Linked DNA regions of Homo sapiens: all the other regions are linked to region 1. The links are contacts of gene promoters, found by promoter capture Hi-C in blood cells and fetal thymus (Javierre and others, 2016). All regions are on one chromosome and are shown on one strand. The core of a region is centred on a gene start or on the middle of the fragment in contact, and the rest is flanking DNA. Distances in the headings are between cores, read along the strand shown. Region 1 holds the start of CCDC27 (coiled-coil domain containing 27). Region 2 overlaps PRDM16 (PR/SET domain 16). Region 3 has its middle 4.8 kb from the start of ARHGEF16. Region 4 overlaps ARHGEF16 (Rho guanine nucleotide exchange factor 16).

The links. Contacts are between HindIII fragments. The CHiCAGO score rates a contact against its expected background, and 5 or more counts as called.
Region 2: a fragment that was not itself captured here is called in contact with the fragment with the promoter of CCDC27 in region 1 in 1 of 17 cell types (neutrophils); the score reaches 6.5 in neutrophils.
Region 3: a contact is called between a fragment that was not itself captured here and the fragment with the promoter of CCDC27 in region 1, in 2 of 17 cell types (neutrophils and activated CD4 T cells). The highest score is 6.0, in neutrophils.
Region 4: a fragment that was not itself captured here is called in contact with the fragment with the promoter of CCDC27 in region 1 in 1 of 17 cell types (neutrophils); the score reaches 8.3 in neutrophils.

What each region holds. Positions count from the first base shown.
Region 1 is chr1:3,750,350-3,753,896 of GRCh38, forward strand. It overlaps CCDC27 (coiled-coil domain containing 27), which reads left to right and starts at 2,101. Exons shown (of 12, transcript NM_152492.3): 1 at 2,101-2,450. The coding sequence starts at 2,133. The HindIII fragment of the contact is 5,281 bases long and covers 1-3,547 here.
Region 2 is chr1:3,420,931-3,424,477 of GRCh38, forward strand. The region is part of intron 12 of PRDM16 (PR/SET domain 16); the gene reads left to right. Among named protein-coding and RNA genes, the nearest start is that of ARHGEF16, 32 kb to the right of the region's middle. RefSeq lists an enhancer at 1-234. The HindIII fragment of the contact is 1,664 bases long and covers 782-2,445 here.
Region 3 is chr1:3,448,125-3,451,671 of GRCh38, forward strand. No RefSeq gene overlaps it. Among named protein-coding and RNA genes, the nearest start is that of ARHGEF16, 4.8 kb to the right of the region's middle. The HindIII fragment of the contact is 5,295 bases long and covers 1-3,547 here.
Region 4 is chr1:3,468,973-3,472,519 of GRCh38, forward strand. It overlaps ARHGEF16 (Rho guanine nucleotide exchange factor 16), which reads left to right. Exons shown (of 15, transcript NM_014448.4): 6 at 461-621. Among named protein-coding and RNA genes, the nearest start is that of ARHGEF16, 16 kb to the left of the region's middle. RefSeq lists an enhancer at 2,595-3,220. The HindIII fragment of the contact is 7,512 bases long and covers 1-3,547 here.

The sequences.
Region 1 (3,547 bases), core at 851-3,350:
GATAAATATTTTTTATAAAGTCATATTGGAAAGGATGGGGTCATGAATTTCTGTGGGGAAAAGAAAGAGAGATCAGATTGTAACTGTGTCTATGTAGAAAAGGAAGACATAAGAAACTCCATTTCGATCTGTATGAAGAAAAATTGTTCTGCTTTGAGATGCTGTTAATCTGTAACTTTAGCCGAAACCCTGTGTCACAGAAGCATGTGCTGTATTGAATCAAGGTTTAATGGATTTAGGGCTGTGCAGGGTATGCCTTGTTAACCATCCGTTTGCAGGCAGCATGCCTGGTAAAAGTCACCGCCATCCTCCATTCTCTATTAACCAGGGACACAATACACTGAGGAAAGCTGCAGGGACCTCTGCCCAAGAAAGCCTGTCCAAGGTTTCCCCCCACTGAGACAGCCTGAGATGTGGCCTTGTGGGAAAGGAAAGACCTTACATCCCCCAGCCTGATACCCATGAAGGGTCTGTGCTGAGGAGGAGTAGTTAAAGAGGGAGGCCTCTTTGCAGCAGTTGAGATAAGAGGAAGATTTCTATCTCCTGCTCATCCTTCGGAACAGAATGTCTTGGTGTAAAGCCGACCATTCGTTCTACTCTTAGATAGGAGAAAACCAGCCTGTGGCTGGAGGCGAGATATGCTGGCAGCAATACTGCTCTGTTCCTCTTTGCTACACTGAGATGTTTGTGTAAAGTGAAACATAAATCTAGCCTACGTGCACATCCAGGCACAGTACTTTTCCTTAAACTTATTCATGATACAGATTCCTTTGCTCACGTTTCCCTTCTGACCTTCTCCCCACCATCACCCTGTTGCCCTGCCACACTCCCCTCACCAAGGTAGTAAAAACAGTGATCCATAAATACTGAGGGAACTCAGAGACCAGCGCCGATGCAGGTCCTTGCATGCTGAGTGTGCCGGTCCCCTGGGCTGACTGTTCTTTCTCTATACTTTGTCTCTGCGTCTTGTTTCTTTTCTCAGTCTCTCATCTCCACCTGAAGAGAAATACCCACAGGTGTGGATGGGGCAGGCCCCCTTCAAATTTCCTTCAGTCAGCAAGCAGAGAAGCCTTTCTTCCCATTCAGACCCTAATCAAGGCTTCTGAAGGTAGGGGTTTTGTCTTTCTCTCCTTAAAAGATGTCTTGAGGTAGGCATTTGAAGCCTGGAAAATCATTCCCAGGGAGTCAGGCTACTCTTATCTACTCTTCTAGGTATTTCTTGGCCAAATGTTTCTAATCCCAGAGCCCACCCCCTAAACCTTTTTTTTTTGAGATGGAGTCTCACTCTGTTGCCCAGGCTGGAGTGCTCTGGTGCGATCTCTGCTCACTGCAAGCTCCGCCTCCTGGGTTCACGCCATTCTCCTGCCTCAGCCTCCCAAGTAGCTGGGACTACAGGCGCCCGCCACCACGCCCGGCTCATTTTTTGTACTTTTAGTAGAGACGGGATTTCACTGTGTTAGCCAGGATGGTCTCGATCTCCTGACCTCGTGATCCGCCCACCTCGGCCTCCCAAAGTGCTGGGATTACAGGCATGAGCCACCGCACCCAGCCTAACCTTTTCTAATACAATTACTGTCTTCAAGCCAGCACATGGAGACATTTGAGCTGGACTCCTGTGTCCTTGGGAGCTGACTTTTCTTTTTTTCTTTTCTTTCTTTTTTTTTTTCTTTTTTTCTTTTTTCTTTTGGAGATAGGGTCTCACTCTGTAGTCCAGGCTGGAGTGCAGTGACGTGAACACAGCTCACTGCAACCTCGACCTCCCCAGGCTCAGGTGATCCTCTCATCTCAGCCTCCTGAGGAGCTGGGACTACAGGTGCACGCCACCATGCCTGGCTAATTAAAATGTTTAACTCCTGGGCTCAAGCATGCCTCCCACCTGGGCATCCCAAAGTGCTGGGATTACAGGTGTGAGCCACCACACCCAGCCCAGAAGGCAACCTTCAATATTGAGCTTTGCTCTTCTCAAAAACCTGGTGTCACAGCACTGGCCTCCAGCGCATCCAGCCGCGGGCCCCTTTTGCTCAATAACGGTTTCTATGGAGACATCTGTGATGCCACCACTGCTCCCAGGAGCCCACAGGACCTGGAGCTCTGGAAGCTGATCTCCTCCCACTGCACCAGCCAGCAGGTTCATGTTCGAGGCCATCTTCCCCTCCACACCCCAAGCCAGGCTGAAGAGAGATCCACGGGAAAAGCCGGGCCTGTCCTCATTCAGGTCCACATTCAGGCAACAAAGCTCACTTGGTCTTTGCATCCCACGCCTCATGTTACCTAAGGAGGCCAGCCCATCTCAGAGGCACAGTTCGATGTCCAGCTCGATGGCCAGGGCCCTGGTGCTCCTCCAGAGCATGGCCAGCCGGGACGCCCGGTGCCCAGAATGGAAACCGCACCAAAAGCCACGCACGCTCAGCAAGTCGGTCCAGACCATCAGCCGCTACTACAGGAAGACGGTATGGGGTCCCGGGAGGAGGGCTGCCACGAGCCTTGAGGTGACCTGTTTCTTCTCCTCCCCAAAGGCCCATAGAGCTGTCAGCCCACAAAGCATTCCACAGGCCTTCTGGTGATGGGTTACCAAAGGGGGATTCCAGGCAGGCAACGAATTGAGCGCTAGGGGTGGAAAGAGCCCTGCGGTCCTCTCCCTTTCTGAAGGGCCTGGTGCCTTAGTCCCCACATGCCACCGGCTTCTTCTGGGTTAGCTGCTTTGGGTTGGTCCTCCCCTCTTGCAGACCTTGGCTCCCGGTGTCTCTGGTTGGCCAAGGGGAGAAGATGTACAGTTTGCCCCAAGACTCCCAAGGTGCATCTTGAAAAGGAGAGTGAAGGGGAGAAAATGTGAAAGGGGACCTCAGCCAGTCAGGTACGCTGTGCCACCGTGTACTGGGGGAGCCCGAGATGGTCACCCCGGCTCCTGGCAGCTTCCTGGGTGAATGCATTGCCTGGACCTAGTGGACTATGGTTTCTTTTTTTCTTTTTCTTTTTTTTTTTTTTTTTTTTGAGACGGAGTTTCACTCTTGTCACCCGGGCTGGAGTGCAATGGCGCGATCTTGGCTCACCGCAACCTCCACCTCCTGGGTTCAAGTGATTCTCCAGCCTCAGCCTCCAGAGTAGCTGGGATTACAATGTGCCACCTTGCCCGGCTAATTTTATTTGTTTGTTTGTTTGTATTTTTAATAGAGATGGGGTTTCTCCATGTTGGTCAGGCTGGTCTCAAACTCCCAACCTCATGTGATCTGCCCGCCTTGGCCTCCCAAAGTGCTGGGATTACAGGCATGAGCCACCATGCCCGGCTGGACTATGGTTTCCAAAGTGGGTCTGCGTGGCTCTTGCTGAGCATCCAGTGTGCTGGAGAGGGGACAGAGGGGACACACTGCTGCAGCCTGCACACACGCAGGCCCTTTCAACCCCAGTGGGAGAGTGGCTTAGTGCCTGTGACCAGCAGCATGTGTGGGTGGGGTCGGGGGGCCTGTCTGTGAATCTCAGCCGACAGTCAGGCAGAAGCAGGGCCCCCGTCTGTCTAGGCTTCAGGATGCCTAAGAAGCTCTCGGTGGGC
Region 2 (3,547 bases), core at 364-2,863, 330 kb before region 1:
GGACTCCTGCTGGGACCGAGATTCCTGCCTCAGGGCTGCTGACTCCCTAGTCTGCCGTGTGCTTCCATCATCTCCCCAGGCTCCATCCTGCCTTCTGTGTGAAGCTGGAGCGTGCAAGGGAGGCACAGTTGTGCTTCCATCGGGGGCTGCACGCGGCCCGTGCATGTCCTTTCTTTTTTAGTTGTATTTTTACGGCTGGGTTTCAAAATCTCTTCTTTCTTCCTCTTCCCTCACTTTTACAGTCACCAAAAGCAGATCCCCCTGTAGTGGCTGCAGGAGACCTCACTGGATCCTAGGAAGGATGCCGCTGCCCAGTGCTCAGGGGCTCGGGGGCCCTGGCCACCCCCCCTGACCTGCCCATACTCTGTTGTTCCCCTGCCAATGGCTTCTCTGGGAGTGCAGCAGGCACGGTCACAGCAAGGTCCTCTCAAGGCCCTCCGCATTGCACCAGGGCCAGGCTACCCTGCACGTTCTCCTTCCTTTTGGAGCTCACGGGCGTGTTATTTTACGCAGTGAGACCATCAATTTCACTGGCCGCTTGTCAGCTTATTTACAACGCAGACCCCAGCTGCTCGGAGAACTCTGCTCCCTCGCAGCCCTGGGCTCACGGCTCCCCTAAATTTCAAATGGACTTCTCTGTCTGGGCCATTTATTTAGATTAGAAGCAAGAGAGGGCCACGTTCAGGGCTCTCTGCAACCAAATTGAACGCACAGCCCTGTTCGTGGCTCTCCCCGGCCCCAGAGCTTCACACAAGGGACTTGCTCTCCAGTTTTATGAACAAGCTTCTTTTCCAATCCCATTTCTTACCTCGGATCCACAATTGCTAGGGTTTATGCAAGAGCCATTAGGTGGACTTTCTGCAAAAGTCTCTGCATTTCCAAAGAAACCAGGAACTGAATGAGCCGTGTTTGAGCACACATGCAGACAGACAGGCAGACACACAGGCAGGCGGACAGACAGGAAGATAGGCAGGCAAACAGACAGGAAGACAGACAGGCAGGCAGACAGACAGGCAGGCGGACAGACAGGAAGACAGACAGGCAGGCGGACAGACAGGCAGACAGACAGACAGGCAAACAGGCAGGAAGGCAGACAGACAGGTAGATGGACAGATGGATGGACAGACAGGCAGACAGACAGGCAGGGCAGACAAGCAGGAAGGAAGATAGGCAGGTGGACAGACAGATGGACAGACAGGCAGGCAGACAGGCAGACAGACAGGCAGGGCAGACAGGCAGGAAGGCAGATAGATAGATAGGTAGGCAGACAGACAGATGGACAGACAGGCAGACAGACAGGCAGGGCAGACAGGCAAGAAGGCAGACAGACAGGCAGGTGGACAGACAGATGGACAGACAGGCAGGCAGACAGACAGGCAGACAGACAAGCAGATGGACAGGCAGGAAGGCAGATAGACAGACTGGCAAGCAGGCAGACTGGCAGGCAGACAGACAGTCAGGCAGGCAGACAGATTGGGCTGCCTCAACATGCCAGAGGGGCACATGGCCCCAGCTGGGTGGGAAGCCTCTGGCTGGGCAGAGCCTGAATGCTCAGACTGGCAGGTGCTTTGCATCCGGGCTGGAGACGCAGAGTCCAGTGTGTCCTTTCTCAGCAGTCAGTCAGCCTCAAAAGCATGGCGGTCCCAGGGCCAGGCACCACCATTCCAGTCTAAGGATGTGTCAGGGTGGGGGATGTGAGAAAATGCATTGGAGGGTGTAAAATCCCTCCTTTCTGGGAGATTGTGTGGGACACGTCGGGTAGGGGGGCACCCAAGCATCTCCAACCCTGCTGCCGAAAGGGCTCCATCCTCGGCCTTATTCTTGTGTGAGTTCACAGGCCGAGTCAAACAAAACTGCAGCGCCGCCCAGGGCAGGCTTTGTGGATGGCCAGTCCAAGCCAGGGCGCTGCCTGTCACTGGGCTGTGGGAGGAGACGCTGGGACCCGGGTGCCCGGAGGCAGCTCAGCTGACCCGGGCAGGAGCAGGGGCTCCCAGAGAAGAAGCCCACAGGCCAGGCCCCTGGGATCAGGAGCAGAGAAGGCTGAGGGTCACTTCGGGGAGCTCAGGGACTTCGATCACCAATGCTTCTTTTCCTGTCTACTGTTGAAGAGGCCAGAGTGAGCCTGGCCTCCGGCAAAGGTTGGAAGGTTCAGGAATTGAGTGGATGAAGCCTTAGGGCAGCACCAGGGAAGTTTGCTGGGACGAAGTGGGATGGGGATATGCCTCGGCCAGGCGTGGGAGAGGAGTGCCCTTCTCCCAGGACTGCCTCCCGTTCTCTAGGGGACCCATTTTCAGACTTGCTAGGTTTTACCAGGCAGCCTGGGGAGTTGGGGGAGACTCGCAGGCTCTGAGATTCCAAGGACAGTTTCTCACGGCCGCAGCCCCTGCACGTGGGGAATGCTGAGCTCCTGGGCCCGGCAGCAGCACCCGGAAGGTGTGGGACTGAAGCTTCCTGCCTTGGGGAGGCCCCTGCGGGTGTGTTGATGGCAGGTCAGACTCCCTCGCCAGGCTTTTGTGATAGCAAACACCAGCCCAGGCCCCTCCTGTACAGGGCAGCACCGTGCCGAGAAGGCCGAGCCACACAGCCCCTCCCGGTCTGGGAGGCCAGGACTCCCGAGTGTCACCAGGCACGTCCCCATCCATGTGACAAGGGCATGTGACCAGTATGCTGCTCTGGAGCGGGCCACCGGCACCGGTCGGGGCGGGGTGGGGCCTCTCGGAGTCCTGTCCTCTGTGGGAACGAAGGCCACTGTGCTTAGAACAGCCACACCCACTCCGGGTGAACAAACCCTGCCCCATCCTGGTGCCTCCACAGAGGCTCCCACAGAGGCCCTGGCCTGGTCTCCAGCTGCTACCAGGCCCCCCCGGCCAGGATCCTGCTGCAGTGGGTAGACTTTCTGTGTGCTGTGCCATGGGCATCATGGAGCTTGCTTTGTTTTCAAAATATGAAAACGCATGATCATATAAACAGAATGTTCAAGTGCGTGTGTGCCTGTGGGATCAGATGAGCACCGCTGCGGGCGTTCTGATGACCAAGAGCACACACAAGTGTGCACACACAGGCATGGCACACACGCACATGCCAAGCACCCACGTGCAACTGAAAACCATGCAGTCAGGGTTCCCTTCACCGTCGCCCAGCCCAGCCGGGTGCCTCTCAGTAAGCCAGTCCCAGCCCCCCGCCGGATGCCCCCCAGGGAGGAGGCTGTCTTCACAGAGGCAGCGCACGTGCATCTACAGAGCTCATGGGGTTCCTCCTTAGCTCATCCCCAGCTCCCCCTCTTCGTTTCAGGCATGATTTTCTTGCTGCTCAATGCACATGTCGCTCAGGCCCCCTAGTTCTCAGCCCCGCTCTCTAAAAATGGGAGAGAACAACCCTCCCTTTCCCTGCCTGCAGGGTCACCACGTGTGGCTGTGAAGGTCACTCCCAGCCCAAGGGCCCCACACTGAGGGGAACCCTCCACACGCAGCCCTCCTCGATCGCTCATTATGACGACTTTCCAGCCGCAAGGGGCCTTGCTCTGATAAACTCAGGGTGTTAGAGTCCT
Region 3 (3,547 bases), core at 449-2,948, 300 kb before region 1:
CTATTTGTCAGATCTGGTTTTCGTCTTTTTTTCTGTTCCTCTGCCCTCTTTTGGATGAGTATTTTCTAGGATTCAATTCTCTCTTCTCCCTGGACTTATTAGCTGTAGCTCCTCACCTTAATTTTTAGTGTCTGATCTAGAGTTTTCAGTATTTATCTTCATCATTGTCTATCTTTAAGTGATATTATACTCACTGTAAAATATACAAACTTTACTCTGGTATATTTCTATTCTCTCCTCCTGCATTTTGAACTTTTACTGTAATATATTTCACTTTTACATATAAATTTGATAATACACTGTCGTTATTTTCACATTAGTCTCTGATCTTTTAAAGAACTGTTTTGGGCCGGGTGCAGTGGCTCACACCTGTAATCCCAGCCCTTTGGGAGGCCAAGGCGGGCAGATCACAAGGTCAAGAGTTCAAGACCAGCCTGGCCAAAATGGTGAAACCCCATCTCTACTAAAAAGATACAAAAATTAGCCAGGCATGGTGGTGTGTGCTTGTAGTCCCAGCTACTGGGGAGGCTGAGGCAGGAGGATCACTTGAACCCAAGAAGTGGAGGTTGCAGTGAGCTGAGATCGTGCCACTACACTCCAGTCTGGGCGACAGAGTGAGACTCCATTTAAAAAAAAAAAAAAAAAAGGAATGTTTTGAAGCACAGAAAAAAAGCCTCTCACATTTATTGACATATTTGCCATTTCCAGTGGGTTTCTACTCCTTGTGCAGACCTGAATTTATATCTGGTATCATTTTCCTTTCGCCTGAAAAAATTCCTGTGACATTTCTTATAGTGTGGGTCTACTGGTGATGAATTTTCTCAGCGTTTGCCTTAACATGTCTTTATTTTCCTTTCATTTTTGAAGGATATTTTCAAGAGAAATGGACATCTTGGTTGACAGTTTTGTTTTCTTTCAGCACTTTAAAGATGTTGTTGTAGTTCTCTCAGCTTTCAGTGTTTCTGATGACAAGCCAGCAGTTATTTTGGTCTTTATTCCCTTACGATTTTTCCCTCTGTCACTGGTTTTCAGCCATTTCATTATGAGGTACCTTGGTGTGGTCTGCTTTGTACGTATGCTGCCTTGACATCTTTGTACTTATTCTACTTCATTTTAAGGTCCTTGATTCTGTGGATCTATGAGTTTTTATTACATCTGAAAAATTTTCAGCCATTCTTCCTTTTTTTTTTTTTTTAATAAGACAGAGTCTTGGTCTGTCACCCAGGCTGGAGTACAGTGGTTCAATCACAGCTCACTGGAGCCTCGACCTCCCTGGGCTCAAGCAATCCTCCCACCTCAGCCTCCCAAGTAGCTGGGACTATAGGCATGCACCACCATGCCTGGCTAATTTTTGTACTTTTAGTAGAGACAGGGTTTCACCATGTTGCCCAGGCTTGTCTCGAACTTCTGGCCTCAAGTGATCCGCCCGCCTCAGTCATGCAAAGTTCTGGGATTACAGGCGTGAGCCACTGTACCCAGCCATTGCTTTAAACATATGTTCTTCCCTCCCCACTCCCTCCTTTCTGGTCCTCCAGTTACACATATTGTTAGACTGCCTGATGCCTGATACCGTCTCAAGGTGGGCAAGGCTCGGTTTCTGCCTTTTCCCTAGGTTTTTCCTCTGCGTGCTTCAGTCTGAGTAACTTGTCCTGGCTTCAAGTTTACTGATTGTTTTCCTCTGTAGTTTCATCTGCTGTTAATCTCATCCAATAGATTTTTTGTTTCCTACACTGTATATTTTCATCTTTAGGATTTCCATTTGATTCATTATTATACTTTCCATCTCTCCTTTGACTGTGATCATCGTTTCCTATAAATCCTTGGGTGGTGTGTGTGTATATATTATATATATGTGTGTGTGTGTATATGTGTGTCCGTGTGTGTCCGCGTGTGTGTGTGTGTGTGTGTGTGTGTATAGAGAGAGAGAGACAGGGTCTGGCTCTGTTGCCCAGGCTGGAGGGCAGTGGTGCGAGCTCAGCTCACTGCAGCCTCCAAATCCTGGGCTCAAGTGATCCTCCCACCCCAGTCTCCTGAGTAGCTCACCTAGCTAATTTTTTGTATTTTTTGTAGAGATGGGGTTTCACCACGTTGCCCAGGCTGGTCTTGAACTCCTGGACTCAAGCAACTCACCATCTCAGCCTTCCCAAGTGCTGGGATTACAGGCATGCGGCACCATGCCCAGCTGATCCTTTGGGGTATTTTTGATTGTTGTTTTAAATGCCTTCTCTGCGAATCCTGTCATCCGTGTCATTTCTGGGTCTGCTTCTACTGACTGATTTTTTTCCTAGTTATTTGTCACAGGTTCCTGTTCCTGCTTCTTCACATGTCTAGTAATTTTGCATTGGGTGCTGGAGGTCGTAAATGTGTAATTTTGCATTGGGTGCTGGAGGTCGTAAATGTGTAATTTTGCATTGGGTGCTGGAGGTCGTAAATGTGTAATTTTGCATTGGGTGCTGGAGGTTGTAAATGTGTAATTTTGCATTGGGTGCTGGAGGTCGTAAATGTCAAATTGTTTGAGTTTCTGGATTTTACTGGCCTTCTTTTCAAGCATGTTGAGTGTTATGCTGATGCACAGTTAACGTACTTGTGGATCAGCCTGGTCCTCTCAGGACTTGCTTTGAACTTCTGTTAGGTCATGTCTAGAGGAGCTGTCACCCTAGGATTACTTCAGCCCTTCACCTAGGACATGGCCTTCTTTGGTATCTACTGAATATTCTGGGTGGTCAGGATTTTTTCCCTCTGTCCCTGGTTTTCAGCCATTTCATTATGAGGTACTGTGGTGGGGTCTGCTTTGTACGTATGCTGCTTTGACTTCTTTGGACTTATTCTCCATTGCTTTGAGGTTCTTGGATCTGTGGATCTACAAGTTTTTATCACATTTGGAAATTTTTCAGACATTCTTTTTTTGAGACAGAGTCTTGGTACAGTGGCTGGAGTACACTGGCTCGATCATAGCTCACTGGAGACTCGTCCTCCCCAGGCTCAAGCGATCCTCCCACCTCAGACTCCCAAGCGGCTGAGGTCAACGAGGGATAGTCAGCGACGGTGCTTCCTTCCTGGTGGCTGACGTTCCAGCGTCCCCTGGCCTGGTATGAACTCTGGTGTCACTCTGCTCACAGAGCTCCCTGGTCGCTGTTGGTCCCTGGCTTCATGGGATCTTACTCTGCTTATGCACAGTTCAGTATTCAGCCAAAGGCTCAAGTGGACCCCTGTGGGGATTTTGGGGGCTCCACTACGTCGCTGCCTTCTCTCCAGGACTCTTTCGGGGCTCCCCTGCACTGCTGCCTTCTCTCCAGGACTCTCTCCATAGTCCTTGGCCTCCTTGGCTCCCCAACTCTGTCCCCTGTAGCCCAGTGAGGCCACCAGCCTCTCTTGGCCAAAGGCTTATTTACCTCTTTCTCCAGGAATTTCTGTCTCTGCACCTGTTGTCCAGTGTTAGAAAGAGTTGTTTCTCGTATTTTTTGTTCCATGTTTGAGTTGTTTGTGGTGACAGACAAGTCTGGTACCGACTACTTCGTCATGGCCAAAACACCTGACATGTTTTAAA
Region 4 (3,547 bases), core at 344-2,843, 280 kb before region 1:
GCCTGGGCCATGCAACACCCGGGGAGGGGCAGCAGCCACGGTGGCACCACCCAGCCATCCCTCTGCGGCCACCTCCAGTGCCAGGCCCTGTCACGCTGACCAGCGCCTCACACAGCCCCGGGCTGTGCTTCCACCTGCGCCAGGCCCTGACGGAGCCCCTTCACGTCACCGGGTGAATCCTCGGAGTCCAGGGGCTGCCATCACCCCCTTCTCTGACAAGGACGGGGGTCGTTGCCCAGCTTCAGCCGGCTCATAAGGCACCCAGCCAGGGGCATCCAGGGACGTCGGGCTGGCATCTCCAAGCTGGCCATTCTGACAGCCCCATCCAGGGGTGTGTCTGGGGTTCCTGTCCCCACCTGCCCCTGCCACCCGGGTCACGTCCTCCTGTTCCAAGCATTGGTCACCGAGGCACGCCCGTGTCCAGCGTCACTGTGGGGCTCACCTAGGCCCCTCTCCACAGGCCATGTTCGAGATCCTCACGTCGGAGTTCTCCTACCAGCACAGCCTGAGCATCCTGGTGGAGGAGTTCCTGCAGTCCAAGGAGCTGCGGGCGACCGTGACCCAGATGGAGCACCACCACCTCTTCTCCAACATCCTGGATGTCCTGGGTGCCAGTCAGAGGTGAGGCCACGCCACAGCCTTCCACACAGGGTCCTCTGCCAGGAAGGTGCCTCCCCCCGTGGGCACCGCACTGTCATCAGCAGGCCCCTGGGAGCCTGCGCTGCACCTTGATGTGGATGGTTTAGAGCAGCTGCTGGCTCCCGCGGAGTGTGATGACCTCTGAGGGTCCTTGAGGCCACCAAGAGCTGGCCCCAGGGCCGGGCTAAGCACTGGGGCTGTGGCATCCTGGTCGTTCTTAAGACGTGGAGCACTTCCCAGGGGTACAACCCTGCCCCACTGCCAAGCACCACCCCACCAGGACGTCCAGGCACAGAGGGCTGCATGATCCAGGCAGTGGTGGCCACAAGCTGCTCACCTGTAGGCAGGAAGCCTCGAGTTGCAGCTCTGGGTCATGTTCCACCCAAAGGTGTCTGGTGGCTGGACCTGAGCTCTGGTTGCAGGGCCTGGAGGTAGAGAGGCTGGACATGCAGCTGCAGCCATGCACGGGGGTATGTGCGTGGGGTGGGGTGGGGTGTGTGTGCGTGGGTGTGTGTGTGGGGTGGGGTGTCTGTGCATGGCTGTGTGTGCATGGTCAGTGGTGTGTGTGAGTGGGCTGGCCCCGAGGCCTGGAGGGTGGCTCGGGAGCATCCAGCACCCTGGTGTGTATGCATGGGTGTGTGGGGGCAGGGGTGTGTATGCATGGGCAAGGGTGTGTATGCATGGGCAGGGGTGTCTGCACGGGTGTGTCTGCACGGGTGTGTGTGGACAGGGTTGTGTGTGCGTGGGCAGGTATGTGTGTGTGTAGGTGTGCATGGGTTTGTGTGCCTGGGCAGCAGTGTGTGTGCATGGGTGTGGGGCAGGGGTGTGTATGCATGGTTGTGTGTGCGCGGGTGTGTGCATGGATGTGTGTGCATGGACGGGTGTGTGCACAGGCAGGGATGTGTGTGCGTGGGCAGGGGTGTGTATGCGTGGTCAGGGTTATGTGTGAGTGGGTAGGGGTGTGTGTGAGTGGCTGTGTTTTCGGTCAGGTGTGTGTGAGTGGGTGTGTGTGCGTGGGCAGGGATGTCTGTGTATCTGCGTGGTCAGGGATGTATGTGAGTAGGTGTGTGTGCGTGGGCAAGGGTGTCTGTGCATGGCTGTGTGTGCGTGGTCAGGGGTGTGTGTGAGTGGGCTGGCCCCAAGGCCCGGAGGGTGGCTCGGGAGCATCCGGCACCCTGGTGTGTATGCATGGGTGTATGTGCATGGATGTGTGTGTGGGCAGGGGTGTGTGTGCGTGGACAGGTGTGTGTGCGTGGGCAGGGGTGTATGTGCGTGGGTGTGTGTGCCTGGCCAGGGGTATGTGTGTGGGCAGGGGTGTGTGTGCATGGGCAGGGGTGTGCGTGGGTGTGTGTGCCTGGCCAGGGGTGTGTGTGCGTGGGCAGGGGTGTGCGTGGGTGTGTGTACCTGGCCAGGGGTGTGTGTGCGTGGGCAGGGATGTGTGTGTGCATGGACAGGTATGTGTGCATGGGCAGGGGTGTGTGTGCGTGGGTGTGTGTGCCTGGGCAGGGGTGTGTGTGCGTGGGTGTGTGTGCCTGGGCAGGGGTATGTGTGGTCTCGACCCTGTGCTGCTCCCTATATGCAGGAGGACCCCGGAGCATCGAGTCTCCTGAGCCTCAGCCTCAATGCTAACCTGAGGGGCGGTGCCTCTGGTCCCCTCGTGGGCTTGGGTGGCGCTGGGAGATGATTAGGGGCCTGTAGTGCCTGGCACAGGGCTGCCCCAACAGTGGTGGTTGCTGGCGCATTCTTATATCAGCCCCGCCCCTGGCGAGTCCCACCCATCTGCTGCCTGTGGGGTGCCCTTGCGGAACTTTGGGGCCCTGAGGGTGGGCAGGGAGCCGCCTTGTCCCTGGAGACAGGGGCTTCCTGTAGAGCTCCAGGGACCAGCTATGGGAAACTCCCAACCTCTGACTCAGCATGGGATGGGGCTGGGGGAGGGGGAGGGGTCTGGGATAGCGGCTGCCCCTCCCCCAGCTCTGCCCCCAGCCAGGCAGGCTTTGTGTTCTCTGAGCTCTGTGTCCTCCGGTCCCCTCTGCCTCAGGCAGCTGCATGTTTGCCTCTGACCTCCTCAGGGCTTTAGATTGCTGCCCTGGGGCGGGAAGCTCCGGCCTCCTCCCCCAGCTGGGCCCCCGACAGCTCCTGGCATTCACAGTGAACTGTCTGGGGAATCATCGCTATTTGGGGTAAGCGGCTGGTGGGCGGCTCTCCCAGACCTTTCTCAGAACCTGCAGTCACCCATATGAGCTGCTGACCGGCCTGGCCGGCCTGGGCACGTACGCATGTCGTGGCCCTGCTCATCCAGCAACCGAGGCCTCCCATGACCTGCTGGGTCCTCGTCCACGGGGACTGCAGCTCCATCTGCTGGGGATTCTCAAGGGCAAGCAGCTGTCAGGACACTCTCCCTGCAGGAAGCGTGGCTCCTGCGTGGGTGGCAGGCCCAGTCGGGCCCCGTGAGCAGAGGAGGAGGGACTCCCGCCCACCTCCACGCTGGGTAAGGGAGTCCTCCGAAGGACAGAGCTCTTGGGCTGGGAGGACCTCCTGTGGCGGCGGCCTGGAGACACGGATGTGGTCTCGGGTTGGGTGCTCTGAGGGTCTGCAGGATGGACGAGGCTCCAGCCACCGCCTCACACAGCAGGTGACCATCGTGGGTCCAGCCAAGCCCAGCCTTGGTGGCCGTGGCCGCCCATGGGGGCAGAATCCTGGCAGCCCTGGCCTAGCTCTGACCAAGTGTTAACTCCCTTCATCCTGATCACCCTGGACCAAGGCCTGGGTCATGGGGAGGTGAGGGGCTGGTAGCCCCTTCCAGGGAGTCTGCCAAGAGCCCACAGCTGGCCCCCCCCCGGCCTTGACTGTTCCCTCAGAACGGGGTGGGGGACCTAGTGAAAGTAAACAGTTCATGAACCCAGCTGGG